Regions from separate parts of the Homo sapiens genome. Here region 1 is linked to region 2. Evidence: promoter capture Hi-C in 16 types of primary human blood cells and fetal thymus (Javierre and others, 2016). All regions are on one chromosome and are shown on one strand. Each heading gives the region's core, a stretch centred on a gene start or on the middle of the fragment in contact. The rest is flanking DNA. Distances are from core to core; before and after follow the strand shown. Region 1 overlaps MED13L (mediator complex subunit 13L). Region 2 holds the start of RNFT2 (ring finger protein, transmembrane 2).

Region 1 (6,180 bases), core at 2,300-4,799, 610 kb before region 2:
TAACATGCTCTTAATATGCTCTAGAATGCATAAACAAGGGTCCAGAAGGATTAAAATTAACAGTTATCTCTGCTAGAATAATGATTGTTTTCTCCTTTACCTCTTTGAGTATTTTCCAGATTTCATGACAGGCATTACTTTTATAAGCTTACATCATATTTGAAATAAATTTTTAAAATAAGGATCCTATATTAAACAAGGCTGTATGTTCAGAAATTACAAGGAAAACCAATATTTTTAAAACAGGAATCATCACAAGATAAATTTTGAGACGGAAAAGCAGACATGTGATTCAGTTAGAACATATACATTTAAATTCATCATTGCTACAAATAAACATTTTATAAACTTCCTCTAGGACAATGATTTTAATAAAGATGAGTCAACTACTGATTTCAACATTAGCACAATTGAGAAGTAAAAATTTAAAATATTTCCTTCCACTCTTCAGACACAAACTAATTTGAATAAAAAACACACGCACATGCACACACACGTGCACACAGAAGCTTGCTACTAAAATTCTGACAGGGCAAGTCCCCAAATTGCCTTTTACACTAAAGCTCAAACAGTTGTCTGTCACTGCTATTACTATGAGTAATCCTTGCAGCTGTAACTGTTTGAAATGCAGCTGTCTCGTTGGCATTCTCTCCCCACCCCCAGCCATGCAGCATTTCTGTTCTTGCTACAATAATCTTAAAGAGCATTTTACAGGAGGCTTAGCCCTGGCTGAGGGCACTCTACGGCGTGACCGAGAGAACATGGAAACACGATTCATTAGACACGCCTGGAGTGATAACAATGGTGCTGCTTCTTACTGCCTTTCATTTCGTACATCAGGCTGAGACTAATGCATTCTCGTTACACAACAAGCACATTTATAGACAGGGGAAAACTGTAATCACCTTTGATTAAGAGACAGCATATTTTTCCTATATGAGCTGCCAGCCATACTGACATAGTAATTATTTTTTAACTGACAGGTTAAAATAGCAAATGTAGCAAAAATAACATCTGCAGAGAGAGAGAGAAAGACGAGAGAGAGAGAGAGAGAGAGAGAGAGACAGAGACAGAGAGAGACAGAGAGAGACAGAGAGAGACAGAGACTGACTGACTACTGTGAAGACTTGGTGCACAAAGGTTTCTTTAGACCAAACTCAGTGCCATCTCCTTGAGACCTGATGGGTACCTTGGCTTTTATTTCAGCTTGACAGTCTATGGCAAATATTGCAGAAAGACTCTTACAGAAATTCATTCTATAAATCCAATTTTTTGGAGGCAGAAATTACAAAATTATTTTTGTCACTGAAACAGTAATGACTATTGGTCTACCTTCTTTCCACTTCTTTCACTATAGGACTAGAAAATTCAACAGTAGTATCCTTTTTTCCATTATCTTACAACAAAATAATTTGTTCTCTTCACTTTGTTATCTACTTTTACTAGATAATAATTTGTTTTCCTTAATATAAAATGCTACTCCAAGACAGAAAAAAAACTGCTTTCTACTATACCACAGTTTATAAAATGTAACTTTGGTTAAAAACAAGAATGTAGAATAATTAGATCAGTCTATCATTTCACTTAACGCCCATCAATCCCTGCACCTGGTGAAGGTTTTAACTGTAAATATAAAGGCCCTAATTTAAATTAGAAAAAAGTCATAAGCCACATTATACTGACAACATATAAAGTCAGTTTTCTTAAGGAATTTTAAAAAGTGAACCACCTTTCCATACACACAAATGCAATCTTCTGTTGGTTTACACATGTGTGTTGCTGGGTTGTAGTTTATAGAGAATTTGGTAGTTGACAGGAAAAAAATATTTGTCATAAATTGAAAGATCATAGTTAAACCAAAATATTGGAAAATACTTTTTCAAAGTTAGCAGTCTGTACAATTAAGCAATTAAAAAGTCTCTTTTTTAAGCTTTCTACAACACTATTGATTTTTACACTAAGAATGTGCTACAAAATAAAACAATTTGCACATGTGAAAATTTGTTAAGACAGAAAAGAAAACTAACCAATAATAAAAAAAAGTTAAGTCTGGTTCACAAAACTTTGAAACCTGTAATAGCTTTTCAAAAAATAATTATGTAGCCAGGCAATGTGGCAGGAGCCCATAATCCCAGCTATTCAGGCTGCTGAGGTGGGAGGACACATGAGCCCGGAAATTCAAGGCCAGCCTGGGCACTACAGTGTGATCCCATCTCAATCAATCAATCAATCAATGCAAACGGTTATGTACATACAACAAACAAATTTTTGTAAAACAGCAAAATGCTTTAATAATTTTAAATAGTAGGATTTTAGAGTTTTCTGACCTGTGCTACCACAGCAGGTTAGAAACTAGAAAATGTGTAGCCTAACTCTGATATGTCTATAAATGGACCACTGAACACTAATGTGCACTTAAACACAGTGTATTTTGAAGAGAAGTTTTTATGTGTCCCACACAATTTTAGAATTACACAAGCTTAAAATTTTCATCATCTGAAATCAAACAATGAGTCTTATTACAGAAGATAACATCTATACAATTTCTACTGTCGGTGCCCAATCCATGTCTCTCTTATTTTGGTTTTCTGTACTGTGTGAAGTCATGACTCCCCCAAAACTAATCAAATTACTTCTGCATACTTTCCCTGTTTGTCTTCTTTTTGGAAAAGACAAAGTTAATCATCAGTATAAAACATGTCACCACACATTAAAAATTTTTATTTTAAAAACATTTCAGTTTAAATGTATTCTTAGTAATCAGAACATTTTACTTTCATAAACAACTATGGTTTACATATGAATTTCTGTTACAATTATCTGGCTCTTAATAGAATCACAAATTATTATTCTCAACTTTTAAAAGACAGAATGTACAATTCTCCCCTTGTGTCTTCAAAATTAATTTGTTTATGAATGCAAAAACAACCTATTGGAAAGCAATAAAAGTTTCTCAAAACTTTTAAGTTAAAATATATCCAGGAAAAGTTGTCATTATCCAAAACTTAAGCCAAGAAGTTTCCAACTCATAAGCAAAAAATTTATAAATGACCTAAACACACCAACACTGCCAATATTTTTACTTCATGTTGGTGTTTCAACTCTACAAGATTCCTTTGCATTAACAAGTCAATATGAAAACTGCAAGTCCTTTAGGAAATAAAGGTCAGTTATTTACAGTCGCAGTGGTGTGAATGAGTTCAATCCTATGTTCTTTCGAAATCTGGCTAGAATGGCATTTTGGTTGCAAAGTTAAGTAACACCGTTGTTTTGGATAGGGCACAGTCTGGAGTAGGGCAGGCCTGGGCGGCTCCCATAACACAAGGTGCAGTGGTTTCTTCCTGTGGTCCTTGGAGTACTAGAGTCCTGTGCAAGAGCCCCAGTGAGTCCCTCTGGCCCTTTCCATCTCCAGTCTCAACCAGGACAGCTGCAGTTTTATCCAGTTGTAGTTTTAGCCATTATAACTTAGGAAGTTCTACAGAGAGCTCACTTGAAAAGGTATTACAAATAAATACAAAGAGTTTGCAAAGAGGATAGAATTTGCAAATTACCAGAAAAGTTGAAAGAATAAATCAAACCAAAAACCCAAAAAGCCTGAGCCACTGGGCAATGCTAACACTTCACTGGCTCTGTTGCTTCTTTTATAGTTATCTTTACTTTCTTTGAGATTCTTTCCCACTCATATTGCATAATTCTAACAAACTGCACTAGAATGTGGGAAAGCCTTCCAAGACAGATTCTGAGGATTTTAAATGTTTATAAAGTGAAGTCCTAACCAATCTACCCCTTCTAGTTACAAAACCCAGGACCCAAACCAACACTGGTCAAGCATTACAGACTAAATCAGTTTGATAGGCAGGCCTTAGAATCTACCCACCATTCAGAATAGATTTTTCATAGGTTAAAAAATATATATATTTTCCAAATAATTAACTTACAAATTATCTTTTGAAACATAGGCTATCAATAGTTTGTCAACTGGTGCTTGAGTATATTAATTCTTCTTTCCATAGTTTAAATACCAGCTATTAAAAAGCATAACAATAAAAGTTACTTTATCACTTTAAAAGACAGAGTTTTGATAGTGATGGAGCTCTCAGAAAGATTTTTGGTTGCCTGTAGTATTTCTTGGGAGCTATATTAGATCTGTTATATAATAATTCATTTCTTTTGTATGAAATTTTGTTTGTTATAACTCATAATTTAAAAACATTTTTTCAATTCCGATTCAAAAACGAAAAATACATATGAGATAATAGGTTAAAAGTTCAACTGTATATACATCATGATCTCAACTTTTCAGATGTGTGCTTAAATATCTGTAATGGAATAAACAAAAATTATAATTACTATAAATCTTTACCCAAACTTTTTATACTAAATTTTAAATATAAGTACCCCTATGTAGTCCGTTAAACAGTTACTACTCTAACTAAAATATAGATATATTCAAAGGCAATATTACCCACTCAGAATAACTCAGCAGTTCAGATGATAAAGAAAATAACCTAAAGAAACAGTAAACATAAAACAGCTGTTTGGACAGAAGATATACTAACACTTTGTAAAGTACAGAAATTGTCATCCCGTTTCTTTTACAATCCAGCTTCATCAAGAAGCAAAGCTTTTTAAACTAGTCTCCCTGCTTTCACTCAAAGCACCTGAAGTCCATTATTCATGAGAGCCAAAGTAATCTTTTTCAAACCTTAAGTCACATCGTAGCATCCTGCCTCTTAAAGCCTTATTTTAATGGCTTCTCATGGAATTAATAATCTATTTAATAAGCTCCTTACCATGGCCTACAAGGCTCCACCTGATCAAACCTCTGTCTACCTCTTCCAACACCCTCTGTGTACTCATTTCAACAGCACTGGCCTTCTTTTTTCCAACAAAGTGAGCTCAAGACATCTGACTTCCTTTTCCTGTATCTGGCTGTCTCCTCCAAGCGGCATTCCCTACCTGACCCTCTAATGGAAAGTAGTCCTGTCCCAGTCAGTCACTTTCTCATCTATTGCTTTGTAGCAGACAACTGTAAGAAATTATTCATTTACTACTTGTCTTCTCACCCACAAAGAAGAATGTCAGCACGATATGTACAAGGGCAATGTCAATCCTTGTGTGCTTACTATACTGCAAAGAACCTTCCACAGAGAAAAACATTGTGACCCTGAGGAAAACATTCAAAGTGGAGCAAAATGCAACCTAATATGATTCTAAGGATTTTTATACTACGCAAAATAGCCAAACAGACACGTTTATAAAAGGCTTAGCTTTTCTTCCTACTGACAATTGAAGGCTCTTACTTGAACCCTTGATAATCAACAAGATTAGAATGACTAATGAAGGGTATTCTTGAGGAAAAAAAAAAACAAGAAAATAAATTAAAATACCACAATAAACTCACAATGTAAAGTAGTTACTGTCATGAAGTGGGTCTCCTAAGAGTTTAATGTTTTAAAATCAGGCAACTTTAACTTATAAAACTTCTATCCCAATAAGAAACATTTAGAAATGGAATTAACTCTTTATTCTCTTTCCTATGCATAATTCATTCTACTTATCAACTCTATAGGCTATTACTACAGATGATAGCTCTTAATCACTATAAATTTACAATGTCCTATCAGTCGTGTTCATTATATCTGAAATAACAAAATAAAGTTACACAGTTATGGAGTGATATTAAATTAAATTCATATTACATATTGATGTAAGTGCATGTAAACAAGAATAGGGCATATGTGTTCCATGTTCCATTCTATTAGGTACAATGAGCTAAGGTCCCTACAGTATTTATCATAAGCCACATCTACAAAGGTTGAGGAATCTTTTATTTTCCCTTGAAGAATGAGGGGGAACATAATGCAAAAAAAAATAAAAGTGGAAAAATGCTGTAGCAGCATTTTTGTGGACGTTTTAGTAATTTTATATTATTTTCTTCCTGGAAAATCAGCTTCCATATAATTATTCTCAAGTATCTCTGGCTTATTCATACACCATATTTTTGTGATTGTTTCTCACCAATTTTTAAAACAGAATTATTTTTAATAAAGTATAACTCAAGGCTGGGCATGGTGGCTCATGCCTGTAATCCCAGCACTTTGGGAGGCCGAGGCAGGTGGATAAAAATATTTATCATCTATTTGAGGATAACCCAAATATTATACTCTGAGACAGATT
Region 2 (7,072 bases), core at 1,389-3,888:
GAGCTGAGATCATGCCACTACACTCCAGCCTGGGTAACAGAGTGAGACTCCATGTTAAAAAAGGTTAAGATGGGAAATTCTGGCCAGGCGTGGTGGCTCACACCTGTAATCCCAGCACTTTGGGAGGCTGAGGTGGGTGGATCACCTGAGGTCGGGAGTTCAAGACCAGCCATGACCAACATGGAGAAACCCCGTTTCTACTAAAAATACAAAATTAGCTGGGCATGGTGGCGCATGCCTGTAATCCCAGCTACTCAAGAAGGCTGAGGCAGGAGAATCATTTGAACCCGGGAGGTGGAGGCTGTGGTGAGTTGAGGTCGTCCCACTGCACTCCAGCCTGGGCAAGAGCAAAACTCAGTCTTTAAAAAAAAAAAAAAAAAAAAAAAAAAAAGATGGGAAATTTTATGTCGTATTTTACCACAATAAAAAAAAATTGAAAAAAAAAAAAGATATCAACTAGGCAATTGGATATAAGAATTTGGGGATTTCTGGACAGATCTAGGCTGTTGTTATCAACTACTGGCATCAACAGCATACCTCCAGAGATCACCTGAGTATTTAAACAATGGCCCAGAGATTACCTGAGTCAGATAGAGAGGAAGGCAGAGGACGGAGTCCTGGCGCACCCCACCACTCAGGGGTCACAAGACAGAGAAGGGACAACACGCGACTGTGAGGAGGTGTCTGAGGTGGCAGAAAACACAAGTCACAGAAGTCTGGTAGTCACATGATTGCCCAGACATCCCGGCCAATAAAAGGGACTTACAACACTCAGCCTCTCTGTTTGCCTAAGGTGGCAGGTCACGTACAATTCCCTATTCTTCCCTTTTCACAGCTCCCCTGCCAATCCACTAAATGTAGAGTGACCACATAGTTTTATCAATGTTCTATTCACTTATATATTTTATTTACACACTTGAGCTTTGAGAGTAAAAAGGAGAGCTTTTTATAACCATGTCAGGACAACAGCATAACCCATTATCCTGGGTGCACCCTGGGGTGTAACCACCCTTTCTACACAACTAAGCACTCAACCTGGACTTCTAGACAAACTTATTAATGCTTTGGGTAAGATTTCCCCACCCGTGCTCCTTGCTGTTTCTCCCAGAAATTCTCACATGGAAGAAAAATGAAAGGGTGCAGTGTGTTGGAGGGGTGGAATTCTACCAATCAAGTTATGCACAAAAAGCATAAAAGGAACTGTGGGTCCTTTTGAGTCACCCAGGAGGACACAGAGCCCCCAAATTAAACGAAGGGCACCCATGCGAGGGCTGGCCGACCCTCGCCACCTATGTCTTGGTTTCCCCCACTGTAATACTGGGAACCCCACTTCTCCCAGGCCTGCTGCGAAGATGAAGCCAGCAAATGCACGCCCTCTCTTAGCTCTGGACCGGGCAGGTGAAAAGCAGGGAGGTGTTCATAAAAGCAGTCCCCACCGCTGAAGGGTCCTCAACTCGGGGTTCTAGTCCCAGCTCTGCCCTGGCCTAGCAACCCCTTCCCGCTGCAGGGACCAAGGCGGTGGGCAGGTCCCTCACCCGTGCTGAGACCGGGACAGGAATGCGCACCTCTCCCCACCCTCGGACGCCCCGGCGGCGCCGCTGCAGAAGTCGGGAGGTCGGACAAACGCGAGGAGTAAGGAAAAAGAGGAGGAAGGGAAGGAAGGAGGAAGAACGAAGTGAGGAAAGAGGATGTCAGGGAAGAAAGGGAGTAAAGGAAGAAGGAAGGGAGAGGGGGACAGAAAGGAGGAGGACGGAAGGAGGAAGGGAAGGAAGAAAGACGGAAGGGAAGGGAGAGGAAAAAGGGGAGGAAAGAAGAAAGGGAAGGGGGAGGAAGGAAAGGGGGAGGAAGGAAGGAGGAGGAAGGTGAGGAAGGTAAGGAAGGAAGGGAGGCAGGGAGAGGGGAAGGAAGGAGGAAGATAAGGAAGGAGGGGAGGTAGGAAGAAGGGAAGGAAGGAGGAAGGAAGGGAAGGGGAGAAAGAAAGGAAGGGAAGGGGTAGGAAGACAGGGAGGAAGGAAAAAAGGAGGAAGGTAACGAAGGAAGGAAGGAGAAAGTAAAGTAAGGGGGAGGAAGGAAGGAAGAAGGGAAGGGGAGGAGGGGAAGGGCGGCCACTGACCTGCTTGAAGGTGCTGCTGAGGAAGTAGACGAGCGACAGCCCGAAGACCAGGGCGAGCACCCACCTCTTCCGCAGAAGCCGGCGCCACACCATGGCCGCCAGGTTCACCATCCCGGCGCGGACGTGGGGCGCGGCGGCCGGGGCGCGGAACGCGGCAGGCCCGGGTCCCGGGCGGCATGGCCCCTACGCGCCCGGCAGCCCCATCCCTCCAGGCAGGCGCCGGCCCCGCCGCCCGCAGCCCAGTCTGCTCCCGGCAGCCTTGGGCGCAGCCCCACGTGACCCCGCCCTACGCCCCGCCTCCGCTCCGCAGCGACAAGGGCTAGTCGCGCAAGATCTTCTCACCATTGGTCCCTAAGGAACGGCGGCCTCCTATTGGTTAAGTGCCGGGAAAGGGGGCGGACAATCGCGTGAGTGCTGCGGGCGTAGCTGTGCCCGGGTCCTAGCGCCGGACCCGGCGACGCCAAGAAACCACCCAATAGGAGGCCGGAAGCATCGGAAGTCACATGCTGCCCAGGCTGCGCGGGTGATTGGCTTGGCTGGACCTGAATGATGCGGCTGTGATTGCTGAATTGTCTGGGCAGGTAAAAAGAGAACGCGATTTTTTTTTCTTTTCTCCCATCATGGTCTGTGTAGTCTCCTGCCCTTGCAGTCCCAGAGCGTTTTGCGCTGTGTGTTGGTTGCAGGGATGAAAAGCGCTCGCGACGTTGTTCCCGAAGTGCACCTGCCGGCTTCCAGTCCAAGTGATGCAGGCGATGCTCCTCTGAGTGCATTTCGGTGCAGTCCTGTAACGGGCCCCAGGGGCGCAACTTGAACCATCGCAAGCATCGAAAAGTCTCGGTGCGGTCCTTCAAAGGGACATAGTGGGATGTACAGAGCAGAGGATTAAAAAGCGTTTCATTCATTCAGATGCATCCCGCGTGCAAAAATTTATTCCAGAATTATGTACGGCCTGCTTCCGACAAAGAATCCGAAGCCTCTTCCAATACAAGCATCCGAAAGTAGAGTTTCGAGCATTCGATTTAGGAGTTAAATGTGTGGATGAGAACTTTGGAATATGAATTTTATTTTCCCCCAAGGATTTGCAATGTGGGATAATGGAGGGAGGGGCGAGAGGAGGATTAAGTTGAGATTGCAAATTCTTGAAAAATATTTATATAATGACCTTTTCTTGATATATGAAGATGCTGCTGCTGACCGGTTTGTTACCTAATTTTTCAAAAGAGAAAGGAGGCTTCACTGGCGGGTCATTTTTAATCAGTGGCCCTAGTGACACCATTGCTGCCCCCTCAAGAAGCCTGGTCAGGATTAGGAAGTCATTCAACAGCCAATAATCGTGCCCTAAACTGAAGTCAGACACCATCTGACTGATATAGACACCCTATATCCACAATATTGGCTCTGCCTCCAGAGACAAGAAGATATTCACGGAGGCTAAACCTTTTCATGGGAAGTAGATGGCCCTTATTACCTTGCTAGGGTGAAAGGTGGGACAGGGAGCAAGGGATCTAGAAAAGGGGAACTGGGAGACCCATAGATGTTTTATTCATTGAGTAAATACTTGTTGAGCGCCACTCTGTGCCAAACAGTGTCCTGGATGCTGAGGCAGAGGGGTGATCCAAGTAGACAGGATCCCTACTTTCAGGAATGGCATTTATATTCTAATGGGGAGGACAAATCATAAATAAATAAGCAAACATGAACAAATAAGTGCTATGAATAATATAAAACAGGGCAATATTACGGGGAGTCAGGAGAATGAGAAGAGAAGGCCTCTGGGAAGAGACGACATTTGCCCTGCGGGACCAAGCCCTGCCACATTTAGAGGAGAAAGTATTCCAAGGGGAGGGCACAGCAAGTGCAAAGGCCCTGAGGCAGGGACACGCTGACACATTAGAGGAACAGAAGGGCCACTGTGGGTGGACAGGAGTGGGAAAAGGGAGAATGGGAGGAAATGCAGTTGGAAACAGATGATGCTACATCAGGAAGAACCCGTAGGCTATGGACAGAGCTCGGGTTTGATTCTGATTGCACTGGGCAGCCGTTGGAGGGTTTAAAACATATTTTCTGGCTTCCCCAATCAGGACTCTTAGTTTGACAATAGGATGAAATACAATACCTTAAGAGTTTCAAAGAGGGCCGGGCATGGTGGCTTATGCCTGTAATCCCAGCACTTTGGGAGGCCAAGGCAGGCGGATCACTTGAGGTCAGAAGTTTGAGACCAGCCTGGCCAATATGGTGAAATCCCATCTCTACTAAAAATACAAAAATTGGGTGGGCGTGGTGTCGCATGCCTGTAAGCCTGTAATTTCAGCCACTCAGGAGGCTGAGGCAGGAGAATCGCTTGAACCTGGGAGGCAGAGGTTGCAGTGAGCCAAGATCGCACCACTCCGTCTTAAAAAAAAAAAAGGAGTTTCAAGGGGGGATCACTGAGAGGCTACCCAGAGATACTGAGCAGATGGAATCATCTGCTTATAGCTACCAACAATGTCCTAAGGCTTCTTAGCAGATTCAAGGTATCGCAGGGACTGTTCATCCAGGTGTTCTGTTCCATCCAGGTTTGGAGTCTCTGGCAAGCTCCCCTGACTGTGCATCCCTCTGGAGACGAAGAGGAGGGGGAGGCCTGTCCTCTCTGGGATCCATTGGTCACATCCCCCTGAGGATTCCCGAATGCCTACCTCCAGTGTCGTCAACATGGAGTTCTGAAGTCCATGTGGCTCTTCACAGTGAATCAGGTGACACGTCTCCAAGAGAATTTGCATCTTTATTACTACTTGATTAAATGTGAGAGCTGGAAGGAAGTTTTGGTTTGACCACTCCACCCCTCCCATGTAACACATGGGGAATCTGAACCCACAGAGGGGTTACTGATTTGTCTAGGGTCACAGCAAGTTAGCAGCAGCATCAACCCAGAATCCATGTCTCCTGCCAGTCCGCTGCCCACTTCACTTCATCCAGCACCTCTTGGCTGCACAGTTTACCGCGTTATCCTCTCACATGAGGACTTTCTCCACCTCTGAGTCTCATCGTCCTCCTCTGTGAAATGGGGTGATAGCTTTCCTCATGGGATAGAATGTCACATTGAGGATGGAATGGCATGAAAGATTGAAACATACTTTGGAAAATGCCAGAGAGCACTAGGGGTCTAAGATACGACTAGTGCAGGTTTGCAGTTTACAATTACCTTGGCAATCTGACAGGCAGTGGGAGTGTTGGGAGACTCTGGCTCACCCATGTGTTGGGTTTTAGGTGTTAAGGAAGATGCAGAGACGCCACAGCAGCAACACGGATAACATTCCACCTGAAAGGTAGGCATCCCTGCTTCTGTTCCATCTGAGGGCTCTAGGCTTCGGGTGGTGAGGGGCAACCCAAAACTGGATTGAACAATACCTCACCCTCAGCGTTAGTTGTTAGAGTCACACTGATGGCCTCATACTAAACATTCAACGCATAATAGCTTGCTCTTTCTTTTATGCTAAATTTCAAAGTCCTGTGTGATAGGTGAGCCACCTGACTCATTGTATCAATGAATGTACCTGTGGAATTTTGATTTATAGAGATGTCTTAGTCCATACAGGCTGCTATCACAAAAATATCATAGAATGGGTGGTTTAAACAACAAATGTTTATCTCTCACAGTGCTGGAAGCTAGGAAGTCCAAGATGAAAGCTCCAGCATATTCAGTGTCTGCGAAAGGCCCACTTTCTGGTTCACTGATGGCCATTCTTTTGCTATGTCTTAATGTGGTGAAGGGAAAGGGATCTCTCTGGGTCTCCTTTTTAAGGGCACTAATCCCATTCGTGAAGAGCCCATCTCATCACCTAATCATTCCCAAAGGCCCACCTTCCAATACGATCAAATTACAGGTTAGGTTTCTTTTTTGAGAGAGAGTCTTGCTCTGTTACCCAGGCTGGAGTGCAGTGGTGATCATGGCTCACTATAGCCTCCAAATCCTAGGCTCAAGCAATCCTCCTGCCTCAGCCTCCTGAGTAGCTGGGACTACAGGCATGTGCCACCATACCTAGCTAATTTTTAAAATTTTTTGGTAGAGACGGGGTCTCACTAAGTTGTCCAGACTGGCCTCAAACTCCTGGGCTCAAGCGATCTTCCTACCTTGATCTCTCAAAGCCCTGGGATTATAGGTGTGAACCACTGCACCTGGCATGGGTTAGGTTTCAACATAAGAATCTACACAAACATTGAGATCATAGCTCTGAGAAACAACACGGAGAGGCTAATGACATTGAAAGATGAGATTTTTATTTCTTCCATTTCTCAAGATGAAGGGGCATACTACTGCTTGCAGGGCCACCTGGGGAAGCACCAGCAATAGTCAGAGGGCAGAAAGGACCGAGGAAAAAGCATAGGCCACAGCCTTTATTGTGTTTTCTGGGGGAAAGAAAGGCAAGGCAGGGGCAATAGTTTAGGACTGGCTAGTTTGAATCATGTTGGTGGGCTCTGGGGTACCGAGGTGGTTTCTTTTTTTTTTTTTTTTTTTTGAGATAGGATCTCCCTCTGTTGCCCAGGCTAGAATGCAGTGGCACGATCTCGGCTCACTGCAGCCTCGACCTCTCAGGCTCAAGCAATCCTCCTACCTCTCAGCCTTCCGAGTAGCTGGGACTAAAGGCATGCACCACCATGCCCGGCTAATTTTTGTATTTGTAGGGACAGGGTTTTGTTATGTTTCCCAGGCTAGTCTCAAACTCCCGGGCTCAAGCGATCTGTCCGACTTGGCCGCCCAAGCTCCTGCTCGCTGGGATTATAAGCGCAAGCCACCACGCCTGGCCTCAAGGTGCTCTTTAGTTTGGTGTCTGGCCCTAGATGATTTAGGACAGGAGAAATATTGGCTGCGTGTGTAAAACTTAGATGAAGGAAGGGCCATGCAGTGACTCACGCCTGTAATCCCAACACTTTGGGAGACCAAGGTGGGAGGATAACCTGAGTCCAGGAGTTAGTTGGAGA

What was found. The method cuts DNA at HindIII sites, captures the fragments that hold promoters and counts their contacts. A CHiCAGO score of 5 or more calls a contact.
Region 1: a contact is called between a fragment that was not itself captured here and the fragment with the promoter of RNFT2 in region 2, in 1 of 17 cell types (monocytes). The highest score is 5.0, in monocytes.

The regions. Positions count from the first base shown.
Region 1 is chr12:116,123,088-116,129,267 of GRCh38, forward strand. The region is part of intron 2 of MED13L (mediator complex subunit 13L); the gene reads right to left. Among named protein-coding and RNA genes, the nearest start is that of MIR620, 22 kb to the right of the region's middle. The HindIII fragment of the contact is 2,145 bases long and covers 2,478-4,622 here.
Region 2 is chr12:116,735,677-116,742,748 of GRCh38, forward strand. RNFT2 (ring finger protein, transmembrane 2) reads left to right here and starts at 2,639. Exons shown (of 11, transcript NM_001382266.1): 1 at 2,639-2,694; 2 at 4,669-4,845; 3 at 5,360-5,418. The coding sequence starts at 4,822. SPRING1 (SREBF pathway regulator in golgi 1) reads right to left here and starts at 2,393. Exons shown (of 5, transcript NM_024738.4): 1 at 2,114-2,393. The coding sequence starts at 2,224. RefSeq lists enhancers at 935-1,893, 2,662-2,921 and silencers at 2,082-2,131, 2,212-2,471. The HindIII fragment of the contact is 21,202 bases long and covers 1-7,072 here.